5 separate regions of the Homo sapiens genome follow, and all the other regions are linked to region 1. The links are contacts of gene promoters, found by promoter capture Hi-C in blood cells and fetal thymus (Javierre and others, 2016). All regions are on one chromosome and are shown on one strand. The core of a region is centred on a gene start or on the middle of the fragment in contact, and the rest is flanking DNA. Distances in the headings are between cores, read along the strand shown.

Region 1 (2,563 bases), core at 43-2,542:
CATGGCCATGAAACCTGTCAATTCGCCCCCGTTTCCAAGAGTCCCCCGTAATTCTATGCCACAAGCTTGTAACTGAATATTAAATTTTACAATAAATAGATCCAATGAGACTTATTTAAAATGTTTCATCTATTGAACTAACTCTCCTGTTATGTACATCTGCACACCTTTCAGCTAGATGCTGTATTTATTTATAGAATTTCAAATACAAAAGACTAGATAGTTTTTCCAACCACTGGTTGCAACCATAGAACGTCCTCACAAAATCAAAATTTCCAATATAAAATGGCCCGTTTATTCCCCCAACCTTGAGCTAAAACCTATTTTATGAGTGTACTATATTTAACAAAAACAATTTCACATGGGTTGTTCTAAACCGAAAACAATGCTTCAATACAAAGCGTTTAAAATAAGTATTCCGTAGGTAAGCAAAATCTATGCCCCAAAAGAGCACACAAATGGTGGTTGAACGCCAGCACATTACCAATACCAAGCGGCATACCTCTTCTGCACTGGGTTATAGTTAATACTCCAACAACAACTACAACTATTTTTAACACTGCTGGACGCTGAAGTTGAAGAAAACGTGAGGGGAGACCCAGATTAAATTGCTGATAGGATGTATTGTTTCCCACAGCCAAAATTAAGCAGCAACTGGCTTGATCTATGTCGTGATATTCACCGGTGAAGCACTAATTAAACGATGACAAAAAGCAACCCTTGTTTTGGAGGAGCCCACACTAAATACTCCTTTCAGATCTCAACCTTTGCATAAATTGTCACTTGTGGTATTTGCGGCTTAATTGCAACCCAACCAGCGCTGTCATCCAGTGTTATGGCCACAAAACATGACTTTCTCACTTCCACAACAACACAGCACTCACTCTTATCAGCTCGCCGACCCAACTCAAAAAGAGAAAAATGCATGGAGGTTTCCAGATCACAATCAGACCTGGGGGCGGGGGGGGGGGGCGGTGGCAGCCGAGGGGCGCAGGGAGTGGGCAACCTCCCCAGGCTCCACTGGACTCTCCGACTCAACACCAGCCGCGGCCCCCAGCAGCGGCCGCCGCGGCCGCAGGAGCAGCCCCACCGCGCCGCGCTCCCTGCACCTACCTGAAGAACAGGAGATAAGAAAGACGGCAAACGCCAACTTTGCAGCAGCTCCCATTTTCCCGAGGCGCCGGGGAATCCGGAGGAAGTTCTCGCTAGATATCCAGTTCCCTGGGTCTTCCTCGGAGACAAACCTCCTGGTGTAAAATCAACCGTCATAAAACATATTCGGAAGCCCAGACCAAAAAAAAAAAAAAAAAAAAAAAAAAACGCTCACTGGGTTAAAAAAAAAAAAGAAAAAAAAGAGCACAACGATAAAAAATAAAATGCACCACGGGGGAAAAACCGCCACACACACGCACAACACACAAAACCAAACAACGAAAAGCCAACAACAACAAAAGCGGGTTTAAATCACTGTCAAAATCACTGTCAGCTCCGCTCGCCTCTCCCGTCTCTCGGAACAAAACGCCAGGCTGAGGCGACGAAGAGGCGGCGGCGGCAGCGGCGTCCGCTGCCGCCCGGACAGTCTGGGAACTGACTGGGTCCGATGTCCGGACCGACCTTCAACCCAGACACCTAAAGTCCGAGGACCACTGGCGGCCGAGCTCGCGGCGGTGGCGGCGAGGCGGCTGCGGCGCGGGGAAGGGGCGGCGGGCGGCAGCGGCGGCGGCGGTGCAGGCGGCGGCCAAGTTCTGGTCCAGGCTCTGGCTCCAGCTCCGGGCTCCGGGCTCGGCCGCGTTTTCGGTCTCCTGGCCTCCGCCGGGCTCCGCCCCCCAAACTTCCGGTTCCGGCCCGAAGCTGGAAGCCAGGCGCAGCGGAGGAACGCTCGGCGGCAGCGGCGGCGGCGGCGGCGGCGGCAGCGGCGGCCGGGCGCAGCGCGCGTGCCGGGCCGGGAGCGCGAGGAGATTGTCGGGGAAGCGAGGCGGGAGCGGGGGAGGGGTGAGAGAGCGAGGGCGGGGCGGAGTGGAGGGCGAGGAGGCGGGGCGGACGGAGGCTCGATACCGCGAGGCCTCGGCGTCCGGCCTGCTTGGGCTAGAGATACCGCGACAAAGGGGCGCGGGCGCCTCAAAGTCCCTAAGCTGTGGCTGGGCTGTGGCCGGGCGAGTAGATGCGGGCTAGGCCGGGCACGACCCGTTTCCAAATCGCGTCCGACGGGCCTGTCTGGAGCGCCCACCCAAAGGGTCAGGAGAAGCCCAAGAGGAAGAGGACCCCGAGGTGGGGCGAGTGGCCAGGGACTTCTCCAAGGGGCGTCTGCGGCGCCCAGTCTTTCCTCTGGGGGGACGCCTCGTCCGCTCTGATACCGAGGAGTCGGTGGAAGGCGGACGTGGGAGCTGTTTCGCCGCGCCCGCCGAGCTGCCCAGGCGAGCTCGCGACGCGCGAGCTGGTGTGTGCGCCCCCAGACTTAGCACTGCGTCCCACCGCTGCAGCTTCTGCACACGCGTGCTGTCTTGGTGACTAGAAAAGAAAAAGAAAAAACTCACGGAGGAAGGGCTGTCCACCCGCTCAGGAT
Region 2 (2,563 bases), core at 26-2,525, 1.1 Mb after region 1:
CAACATAAAAATGAAGATTACTGGGGCTGACCTGTAGATATTCTGATTTTGTAGGTCAGAGTAAGGCACAGAGGTATGCTTATTTAATGAGCGTGAACCTCTAATGTCTCTCTACTACTACAGTATAGGTCGTCCATGGATCACGCTTTGCCTAACACTTATAAACCTTCATGTAGATCCATATTTTTAAATCAAAGGTATCTTTTGTATGCCTGATTCATACTATATAGTTATAGAAAGAGTATTAGTCCTTTGGTGTTAAGGCTGAGACTTTTATTTTATTTATTTTTTTCCTACAGAATGTGTTTATTCTAACAAATCATTTCTTGTCTTCCAAAATGTATACGGAAAAAAATAGCAAAACAATCTTTCCTAGCGGTGGTCGGCTCACTTTACAGATAACATTTTTGGGGAGATAGCACCCTCATGTGGTAATATGATGCTACAAATATTCTGCTGTTATATTGTATGTGTTGAGCAACCACAAGCTAATAGTTGCTGGTAACTTGTACCACCAACCCGTTGCATCATATTTCTAAAGAGCTTTTAGAGCAACTTTATTAAACCTAAAGAAGACATTCATGTGCAAAAATTAATACATTCCCACTGTATATTTTCATATTCCAATAACTGTGGCTTCCTTTATTGAGTCAAGAAACCTATATCAATGTTTCTGTTAAGTTATAATAAATGACTACACCAAATTAAGCTTCTGGGGACACAGAGCTCATCAGCACACAAACACAGCATTCTATTATTAGTCTAGTGGTTTTCCTGGACCGTGGGAATAATTTCATTATGCTCCAAAGTCATAAATATCAAGAATATTCTGAGATTTAGGGAAATTTTGAATAAACACTAAGTGATTCAGAACAACAATAAAAATAATTTTTCCCATAAATGAAACTGCCCTGAACTTGAGCATGAAGTCCTATGAATGAAAAACATTTCTGTAGAAGGCAGATATCCTGCTCACTTTACTGCTGTTTGGGGAATACCAGACCTTCTAAAAAACAGAAGCAATAACTCCAGCTGAAAGAATAACAGTAACCCTACTAGACAAAAGAATGTTGGAGTTAAATATGCACTCTTGATTAAAATGTACAATAATGTAAGGGAATAATTGTGAATGCTTACAGTGAAATTGATAAATCATTTAAAATAAAATGCTATTTCAGTGTCATAATTGGCCATGACTGTTATATAAGGAGGGGAGTTCACTTAACATATACCTCCCTTCTCCCAGTGTATACAGAAGTTAATCTGATTACACAGTGACTTCTCAAAAATTGTATCCTTCTTGGAAAAGTGTTACTTTGCTGTGGTTTTAAAAGCATTTGCGTTTGTTTTTTTCTATTGGATATTTTCTTTCTTTGACAAATGTCACTTACCCCATAGTTAAAGGTTTTTTTTAATAGTTATAATATAGATTTGCTTTTTATTAATACCATTTCAATATAAGCAAGAGGCATGTGCTCATTATAAATAATATAGTAACAATTAAAGAGAGAAAAGTATGTCACCTGTTAGAACCTCTCCTTCCCACACGTCCTTGGGATAATGGACAAGTGTGTGTGTTTGGTGTGTTTGAATTCAGTATTTTCATTCATGCGAAGAATATCTTTACAAATAATTACAATGTATATAGAGAAAATATATATGAATATATATACACGTTTATACTTGTAATCATATTGTATATATATATTTATATCTTTTGACATTGTACCAGGAAAATTTTTCTGTTAATCAAATGTTCAAAACTCTAGTATATGAATATATATAACAGTTGCTGGTATCTTGTACCACCGACCCGTTGGATCAAATTTCTAAAAAGCTTATATATACTCTAAAGAGTATATATATACTCATGTATATATGTACTCATGTAAATGTATAATACAAATGAAACTCATAATAATATATACACCCTATTAATAGTATATATATATATGCTCATGTAAGGATCAACATTTCTTTGGCCATGTTTTTAAAAATTTGGAGGTGCTTTCAGTGTTTTAATAGTAATAAATAGCTTAATAGTATTTATCACATGAATTATAATATTGATTATCATTATATCATGATTATCATCATAATCAGTGCTATAAATAACAAATCAAGAAAATAAGAAAGCCTAAGAAAACTATAATAATGAAGATAGTCATACAGAAGATTCATGAAGAATTTGAATAAGATAAAAGTTTATTGAGGATTTGAATCCAACAATACAAATGATTGATATCACCATGTATGAGAAAAAAACATTGATAATGACTAAGAACAAGAAAATCTACAGTTGATGGTATAAACTGAGAATTCTTTAGCTACACAGCATGTAGTTGACCTAAGGCAAGGCAATGACATTTTCAAATATATGAGGCTCAGGAGTTATACAGTCCGGACATTCTTCTAAAATTTTTACTTGACATAACTCAGCCAAAAGCAAAAATAAATAAATAAATAAAATTATTGAATTAATCAGTTTAATATGTGAGTTTATTTTATTTATTTATTATCTTTCCATTCAGCTTGCATTTTCCTGATGGCCTAAAATTAGCAT
Region 3 (2,563 bases), core at 48-2,547, 1.0 Mb after region 1:
ATATCTTCTTTGCCAACTGAATACTGATTTTTTTCAATTCCTCAGGAAAGGCCCTTATCCTCAACTCTGGCTGTATATTCTGATAGTTTAAATCATCATAGTAATCTTTCCTTTGTTAGTGATTGGATTAGGGTAGTTAGTGGTTTGTAAACTTCAATGTATGTCAAAATTACTTGGAGAGCTTGTTAAAATACAGATTGTTGGACCCCACCGTGACCTTCTGATTCAGGAGGTGTCTTATGAGGTTGGAGATTTTGCATTCCTAACAAGTTCCTAGTGAAGGTGACAATGCTGGTAGGGACCATGATTTGAGAATCACTATTTTAGGGGTAGCTCTGTGACCAGTTGTGGCCAATGAGATGAGAGAAGTCTTCTGGGAATTGTTTCCTCATGATTCAAAGACAATACATTTTCTTATTACTTGAAATTATTTGTACCATATTCTTCTAAAGTAATCCTACTTGATGCAAGAGAATTAGAAGTTATTATCCAAGTTATTACTTGTAAGTCTTAGCTGCTCATGATATGATTGATTTGCTAATCTATATTTCATCATAGATTAGCAAATCCTGTGGCATATATGTTTACAAAATATTTAGCTTCTTTGTTAGAGGTAGCTATCGCATTAAAAGGCTATTATAAAAGTGTCTATCATAGGTAGCCAAAATAAATAGAATATATTACTTCGTCACAAAAGTCCTATTGTTAGGCTGTGCAGTATATTGGACACATGGTCTGAAATGTGCATCTCTAGACATCCAGCTTGTTTTGTGGGCTGTTAAAGGGTTTCGGCACTAGACGGTGAACATATTTTATTTAGTAGCTAAGTATTGCCGACCAAGGATTTCCAGGCAATCTGCAGGCATTTGAAAACATACATACTCAATATAGTTATTTTGAGGTTATTTTAATGAAAATATTGTAATCACATGGTTCACATGATCTATTCTTAAAATACATTAAGTATAGTAGTTGTATTTGAAACAAGAATCAAGGCAAACCTAAACTCATCCAGGAATGCTCATCATTTCAGCTGAATGAATACATGGCTTCAGATGCTGTTTAGTTTCTATGCAAGAAGTGCTGACCAGTGCTGCTCTTCCTGACTCTGCTAACACCAGTGTCAAGGTTTGCTTTGTACTTAGCTAAAATGTCACAATTTATATTTTTAATAACTAGCTATTTCATTTTAGAGTGTTCTTCACCTGTACTGAGTTGATGCAATGGAACATTTTTGTGTTATACCATTCAACCTCTAAAACAAACTCTACTCAAACTAAACTCAAAGGAGAAGTGCATGGCATCCTTTTAGGCTACTTGTAGCATGATTATTTTCTGCTCAATTAAATTTACCTCTGTTACCTTGGTAACCAAACTATTAGCTCGCTGCCAACATATTTTTATTCCTCCTTGTATTATTTTGGATATCTGCATTTTGTAGCTTCCCCATAAGGTTCTCAAGCCAAGTTTTTTATAAACTCAGGTCCTTCCTTGTCTATTGAACTTACATTATGTATCTCCTATCTTCCACTTAGAAAAGGAAACGGTAAATCTCTTTTGAATAATTTAAGCAACACTTTATTTAAAAAAATGTTTTTCATATTATTAAAATGGTCTCACTTTCCTGGTTTGTTTCCTTCATAGCTATCATTTCACAATTACTATTTGCCAGACACTATTTAAACACTTTTCAAATATTAACTAATTTAATTGTCATAACAAGCCTATGAAGTAATACTAGTATCCTTAATTTATCAATGAGGGAAATCAGAAACAAACATTATTTGAGTTGCCCAATTCAAACAGCTAGTAAGTGATAGAGGCAAGATTTGAACCCAAACATTAGTTTTAAACATCTGAGTTTATCAGTCTTACATAAATAGCAATTAGAAGTCCTCAAATAAACCAGTATTGTTAAGATAACAATTTACTGATTACATTTAGGTAGGTCTTTTGACTAATGCTAATCATAAAGGCCAATATTAGATGTGAATATAATCTGCTCCTGAAAAAGCATTGAATCTTACATTTTTTAAATGTGAAAATGTGAAAGTAATTTATTCCTAGTCCACCTCATAATCTTAAGCAATTCTCCAAATATCACTAAGATATACTTAGACACATTTATAACATCTACCAAGGATTTCTGCAGAATATAAAGCATGAAAAACACCAATTACCTAATTATATGATATTGAATGAACTCATATTTGGGCTTTGCAGTATGCAGCAATACTGAACAATAATAGATGTGAATTCTTTTTCTTCTGGAAATTCATGGAAATGAATAAAGTGTGATGTAAAACATGAATATGTTAGAGCTACATAATGAATGCAAATAACTCTTAGCAATAAAAAATAAGTAATAATGCAATTAACATTGGAACTTCCTAGTAGAAGAATTGCCTCAGTGGCATTTGGCAGCAAGAGAAAAGGCATACTTATCATAATATGGAGTAAAGATGATAACACATCCTAATATATAGTGTATTTAAACAAGACAAGCACAAGATGTGATCCTATCAGAATACCTGAGATATGACTATCTGCTACTAAACATTTT
Region 4 (2,563 bases), core at 41-2,540, 1.0 Mb before region 1:
CCTCGCCCCACAGATGTGGACACAGCCTCCTCTCCACCCAGCGTGAGGCGCATCAGAGGGTCTGCAGACATGGGAGGGAGGTCATCCCAGAGGGGAGGGATCAAGCCGGGACTCCACATCCAGGGCAGCCAGGCGTGAGAGGAAGCGGGAGACACACCAGGCCTCCAGGGGACACCGAGGCCACCAGTACTCCCCCAACCCTCCGCCTTCCGCGCGCGGAGCCAGGTGTAACACCGCGGGGAGCCGCGTCTACACTGCCGCGGGAGCTCCGAGACGCGACTAGAAATTTTCCTGTACCCCTTTTTCTTTCTTTTTTGCTAGGGTCGTGAGAAGAAGAGGCAAGGCGTTTGGTAAATCGAATTGATTGATGCCCAGAAGCATTTGCGGGTTGCAGAGCTCACACTTTAAAGGGGGCCTGGGCACCCGGCTTGAGGGTCACCCGAACACACTACCCACGCGGCGAGGCGAGCGTGGGGAACAATGGGCCCACCCGGGCCCCCACCCGGCGAACAATGGCGGCGCCGAGCCCGTCTTCGCCCCCCATCCCCACCCCCGCCACCCCCGCCCGGCCCGCCGCTCCCGGCCGCCTCTCCACCCGCCCGGGAGGGAACCATAGTGCGCGGGGCGAGGGGTCTCTGGTCAGGTCCACCCGAGAGGCCAGCCCCGCGGGAATGTCCGAGGGGGCGGCCTAAACACCTCCGCTGCGTCTGGGGCGTCGGGGCGCCCAGCTGCGGCGCGGAGCAGCAGGGAAGGCAGACGCCCCAGCCACTTACCCCGATCACCACGGTCTCATCGCCTTTAAATTTGGGGATGAATTTGTCCCCGCGGAGGATCTCCGCTTCGTTGAGGGGCCGGAACCGGCACATCACTTTGATGCTGCATTCGGCTGGATCCGCCATCTCGGCCGGCGGTAGGGAGGGGGCACGGGGATGGGTGGGGGGCCGGGGCCGGGAACGACGAGGGAGGAGGCCGCGAGCTGCACCGCCCACAGCTAGGCCGCCTCCTGCAGCCTCCGACGACGCTTCTCAGCAGGTCATCGCGAGCCCGGCCGGCTGAGCAGCCCCGGCCGCTCCGAGCCCGGGAAGGTGGGCAGCTTCTCCGCTCCGGCCCCTCCGGCTGCAGACCGGCCTGCCCTGGCCCTGCCCCGCCCCTGCCCAGCGCCCCCCGGCCCACCTGCCCGCGACCACGCGGCGGGCGGAGGAGGCGATGCGCAGGGAGCGAGCCTCGCCCGGCTCAGACCTCCCGGGCTCCTGCGCGCTCAGCCATCCTGCATCAGCACCAGCGCGCTCTGCCGCCTTGAGACCCGCCCCTCCGCCCCGCCCTCCCCTGGCCCGCCCCGGGACGGTGACGTCACCGTAGAGGTCCGCCCGGCCCCCGCCCGACTCCGAGCGCTGCGCATCCCGGGACTTGTAGTCACTCTACCTGCCGGGGGAAGGACAGGATGCGACCTCCAAGAGCCTGCAAGTCCGGTCTGGCTGCCCAAGCCGGAACCGGATGGAGGTCATATCCAATATTTCCGGTTAAAATCTCTAGATAACTGGGTCTGGATCATCCTGATCCCAAAAGAAAATCACTTGGGAAACAGCTCCCAATAGCCCCTGGGTTTCATCCTTCAACTTCTACCACTAGATAAGGATGGATGTCTGTTCAGAGTTTGGGTTTGATTGGCCTTGGTTTAGGTTGGCATCTAGTGCTAAACCAATCAACCAGAATCAGGGATTTTGTAAGATTATGGAGGAATCCCTTGGTGGGAAGGTTCCCAAAAGAAGAGGGATGGTATTCCCAGACATGGTGCCGGGCTGGCAGAACAACTGAGTGTCCACTCTATTTTTCCAGAACTTCCTTTTCCTCTAAGACCTAGCTCAACCCTCCTTCCTCAGACTTTCCCAGCTCACTAAACACCTATAAAGAGTTGGTGGCCCTCCTTGATGTTCCCCTAATCTGCTGTGCCTGTCTCTAGCACTGCACTTGGGTGGTGATATCTGCTTGATATCTTTGTGTCTGTAGCATCTAGCACATAGTGGGCAGCATACTGAATAAGGATTCTACCCTAGGAAGAAGCAATGCATGAGTGTGAATCCCACCTCAGCCACTTATTAGATGTATGACCAACAGGCGGAGGAAATTAAGAGCGGAGGAAATTAAGAAGTCTTAATTTCCTTAAGACTCAGTTTCCTCATCTCTGTCATTGGAATAATATCATCTTGTGATTTCTGGGGGAATTAAAAGACAGATGCTTTTAAAGCACCTAGCACGGTGCCTGACATGTATATAGGATAAGCTCTTGAAAGTTAGATGTTATTGGGTGCTGAACAAATGATCATAAAACAAATAAGTTAGTTAATTTTAGGAACACATCTGTTGCTTAAATTCGGGTAATACCTGAAAATACAAGTGTTCTCTGCCTAGCTGAGAGGACAGACCTACTAAAATCAACTTTTATAAACCCTTGTAAGTAGTACCAGTTCTATTTCATCTCCTCATGTGCAGTGGAAGTAGATTAAAAAGACCCAGGTGCCACCTTCTCATCTGTTTTTAAATTAAGTAATTCTCAGGCTCTGGC
Region 5 (2,563 bases), core at 35-2,534, 1.0 Mb after region 1:
TGGGCGACAGAGCGAGACTCTGTCTCAAAAAAAAAAAAAAAAAAATAGATAACCAAGAATCTATAGATTGTAACTGATCATTGACTAAAGAAATGATACACATATCAAGAGTGCTAAGAAAGTTGAAGGAAAAAGAGAAAATATCCAACTAGGGTTTAGATGGAAAGCTTAAAAAGATTCCAGCAAAGAAACCACCACTTGAATGTAATATAATAATACAAGAACAGGCAGAGAACAAAAAAATGCACAGCTAATATTTACCCTACTTCTACTATGGGCATTAAGCCACATTAGGAGACTAAAGAAAATGTTATCTATTTATATTGACACATTTTCTTCCAAAAAGTTAAAATTATCAGTAAGTCCACTTAAATAATGGATTCACATTTAATATTGTTAATGATAACCCTTTCTTTAACTGTAAATTATGCTTTTTGCTTTGAATTAATGATAATATGCAGATATTGGTAAGACAAATTTTTAAATTTAATCTTTATCTCAATTTTCCAAATGTATATTGTAGTGTGTCGTTTGAAATATTTATGTATAAAGTATGTATAGATTATAATGATGAGCATAAATACTTAGAAATAAGTAAATATGCATATATTAGCATGTGTGTGCTAAAAAATATTTTACTGATAAATGGAGAATGATCATAATAATTTGGTTCTTTTTCCAAAGCAAAAGACATGCTTCTTTTCCCAACATTAGTCAAACCTCTCTTATCATTCAGCTCTTTCAGAAAGCTCAAACTTCTTAATACCTTGCTAGATTACAAGCGAATTGATTGCTGTCTATCACCATTTCGTAGGATATATGAGGTGTTCTTAAAGCCATGGCTCCTAAAGCCCTTCTCCCTAAAATGTTCATGACCTTAATTGGCCTACAGATAATTTATATTTTATACTATATTAACTATTTATTCGTGCTGTCTTATATCCTCCAAAGGTCTGTCCACAGACCTAACAATTCAGTCTGCAAAATGTTAGAGATGAAGAGCTGAGTCACTGGAGCTTTGTGGACAGTTATAGTTAATAATGAGAATTCACAAACACATGTACATTTTAATACCGATGAAGCTCTATAGTAGTTTGTTTCCTGCACAAGTCATTGCTTTCTCTTGTACAAATGCACAACTTTTCAGTTGGGCATAATTACAGAGGGAAGGGATCAACATGTGATGCATGTGATAGAAACTACCGCGCTATCATTTCCTGAACATCTATTTTATGTAACATAGTTAATGATGACAGTGAAATGGCAAAATATCCCTTTTTACTATGTGCAAGGTTGGAACTTCGTATCCATGTATTGTGTATGTTTAAAAGGACATGTGGTTGTCTGGGCACAGTGGCTCACGCCTGTAATCCCAGCACTTTGGGAGGCCCAGGCGGATCACGAGGTCAGGAGATCGAGACCATCCTGGCTAACACGGTGAAACCCCGTCTCTATTAAAAATACAAAAAATTAGTCAGGCATGGTGGCAGGCACCTGTAGTCCCAGCTACTTGGGAGGCTGAGGCAGGAGAATGGTGTGAACCCAGGAGGTGGAGCTTGCAGTGAGCTGAGATCACACCACTGCACTCCAGCCTGGGTGACAGAGGGAGACTCTGTCTCAAAAAAATAAACAGAAACAAAAACAAAAAAAAAGGACATGTGAACAGTGTTTCCAGGAGACTGAGGCAGAAGCTGTACCAGGGTAGTAGATCCCTCAGCTTGATCTGGGAAATGTAAAAATCTCAGGCACCACACGACATTTCCTGAACCAGAACCTCAAGAAGCAGGGCCCAGGAATCTGCATTTCAACAAGCTCTCAGATGATTCTTATGTACACTAAAGTTTGGGAAGCACTTCTCGAAAAGAAATAGTGATTTAGGTTGCCACTTCAGAATAGACATGAAATTTTTCAGAATTCTCCAGGAAACTATGTCAAAGGGTTCTTATGAGCCTCCATGACTCACTGATGCATTTTAAAGCTGAAAATGAGTTATTCACATACTATTTCACAGCAGTGAAGAATGACACTGATTTCTCAAATTGGTGGCAAATAAATCCAAATCAAACTGTATTTTGTGGAAATATATTTGATGAACAAATAAAATACAAAAATGGTTAAGTGTGAACCATGAAGAGAAGCAGATTAGTCTGTATTAATTACCACAGCTATGATAAAATAATGGGCTGGATAGTGATGCTTAACTAAAGCCACTTATGCTTTTGTTTTTCTCTCAAAGAAGAAAACCATACCTCTTCTGAGAAAAGTGAGTCCAGATACCAGATTTATAGGAGGGACAAGAAGGCCTTAGTAATGAGACATCTAAAAATTAAATCAATAGGAGTTAAATATTTTCAAAACTAATTTTGTCAGTACTTTTCATAAAAATACAAGCCCAAGCTTGTTTACGTGTGAATCAGGTTTAGCTTGTTAATTGGTATTTGGCATTTCTTTGTTCTTGAAACAGTATGATGCCTAGAGGAGGCTGTATGAGAGAGAGCAAGAGACAGAGGAGAGAAACAGCAGTGCTTAACAGCTTACTAACACTGATCCTATTTATTCTGTG

What was found. The method cuts DNA at HindIII sites, captures the fragments that hold promoters and counts their contacts. A CHiCAGO score of 5 or more calls a contact.
Region 2: a fragment that was not itself captured here is called in contact with the fragment with the promoter of ACVR2A in region 1 in 1 of 17 cell types (endothelial precursors); the score reaches 9.2 in endothelial precursors.
Region 3: a fragment that was not itself captured here is called in contact with the fragment with the promoter of ACVR2A in region 1 in 1 of 17 cell types (endothelial precursors); the score reaches 6.9 in endothelial precursors.
Region 4: a contact is called between the fragment with the promoter of KIF5C here and the fragment with the promoter of ACVR2A in region 1, in 3 of 17 cell types (total B cells, naive B cells and activated CD4 T cells). The highest score is 10.4, in total B cells.
Region 5: a contact is called between a fragment that was not itself captured here and the fragment with the promoter of ACVR2A in region 1, in 1 of 17 cell types (endothelial precursors). The highest score is 6.0, in endothelial precursors.

What each region holds. Positions count from the first base shown.
Region 1 is chr2:147,843,758-147,846,320 of GRCh38, reverse strand. It overlaps ACVR2A (activin A receptor type 2A), which reads right to left and starts at 1,292. Exons shown (of 11, transcript NM_001616.5): 1 at 1,114-1,292. The coding sequence starts at 1,168. RefSeq lists silencers at 851-930, 1,686-1,795, 1,876-2,065 and an enhancer at 2,192-2,563. The HindIII fragment of the contact is 3,923 bases long and covers 68-2,563 here.
Region 2 is chr2:146,732,122-146,734,684 of GRCh38, reverse strand. No RefSeq gene overlaps it. Among named protein-coding and RNA genes, the nearest start is that of LINC01911, 100 kb to the left of the region's middle. The HindIII fragment of the contact is 1,128 bases long and covers 712-1,839 here.
Region 3 is chr2:146,796,922-146,799,484 of GRCh38, reverse strand. No RefSeq gene overlaps it. Among named protein-coding and RNA genes, the nearest start is that of LINC01911, 39 kb to the left of the region's middle. The HindIII fragment of the contact is 2,808 bases long and covers 1-2,563 here.
Region 4 is chr2:148,873,954-148,876,516 of GRCh38, reverse strand. KIF5C (kinesin family member 5C) reads right to left here and starts at 1,290. Exons shown (of 26, transcript NM_004522.3): 1 at 774-1,290. The coding sequence starts at 899. KIF5C-AS1 (KIF5C antisense RNA 1) reads left to right here. Exons shown (of 4, transcript XR_001739733.2): 4 at 322-2,563. RefSeq lists enhancers at 1-45, 46-624 and a silencer at 997-1,466. The HindIII fragment of the contact is 10,493 bases long and covers 1-2,563 here.
Region 5 is chr2:146,817,727-146,820,289 of GRCh38, reverse strand. No RefSeq gene overlaps it. Among named protein-coding and RNA genes, the nearest start is that of LINC01911, 19 kb to the left of the region's middle. The HindIII fragment of the contact is 2,230 bases long and covers 170-2,399 here.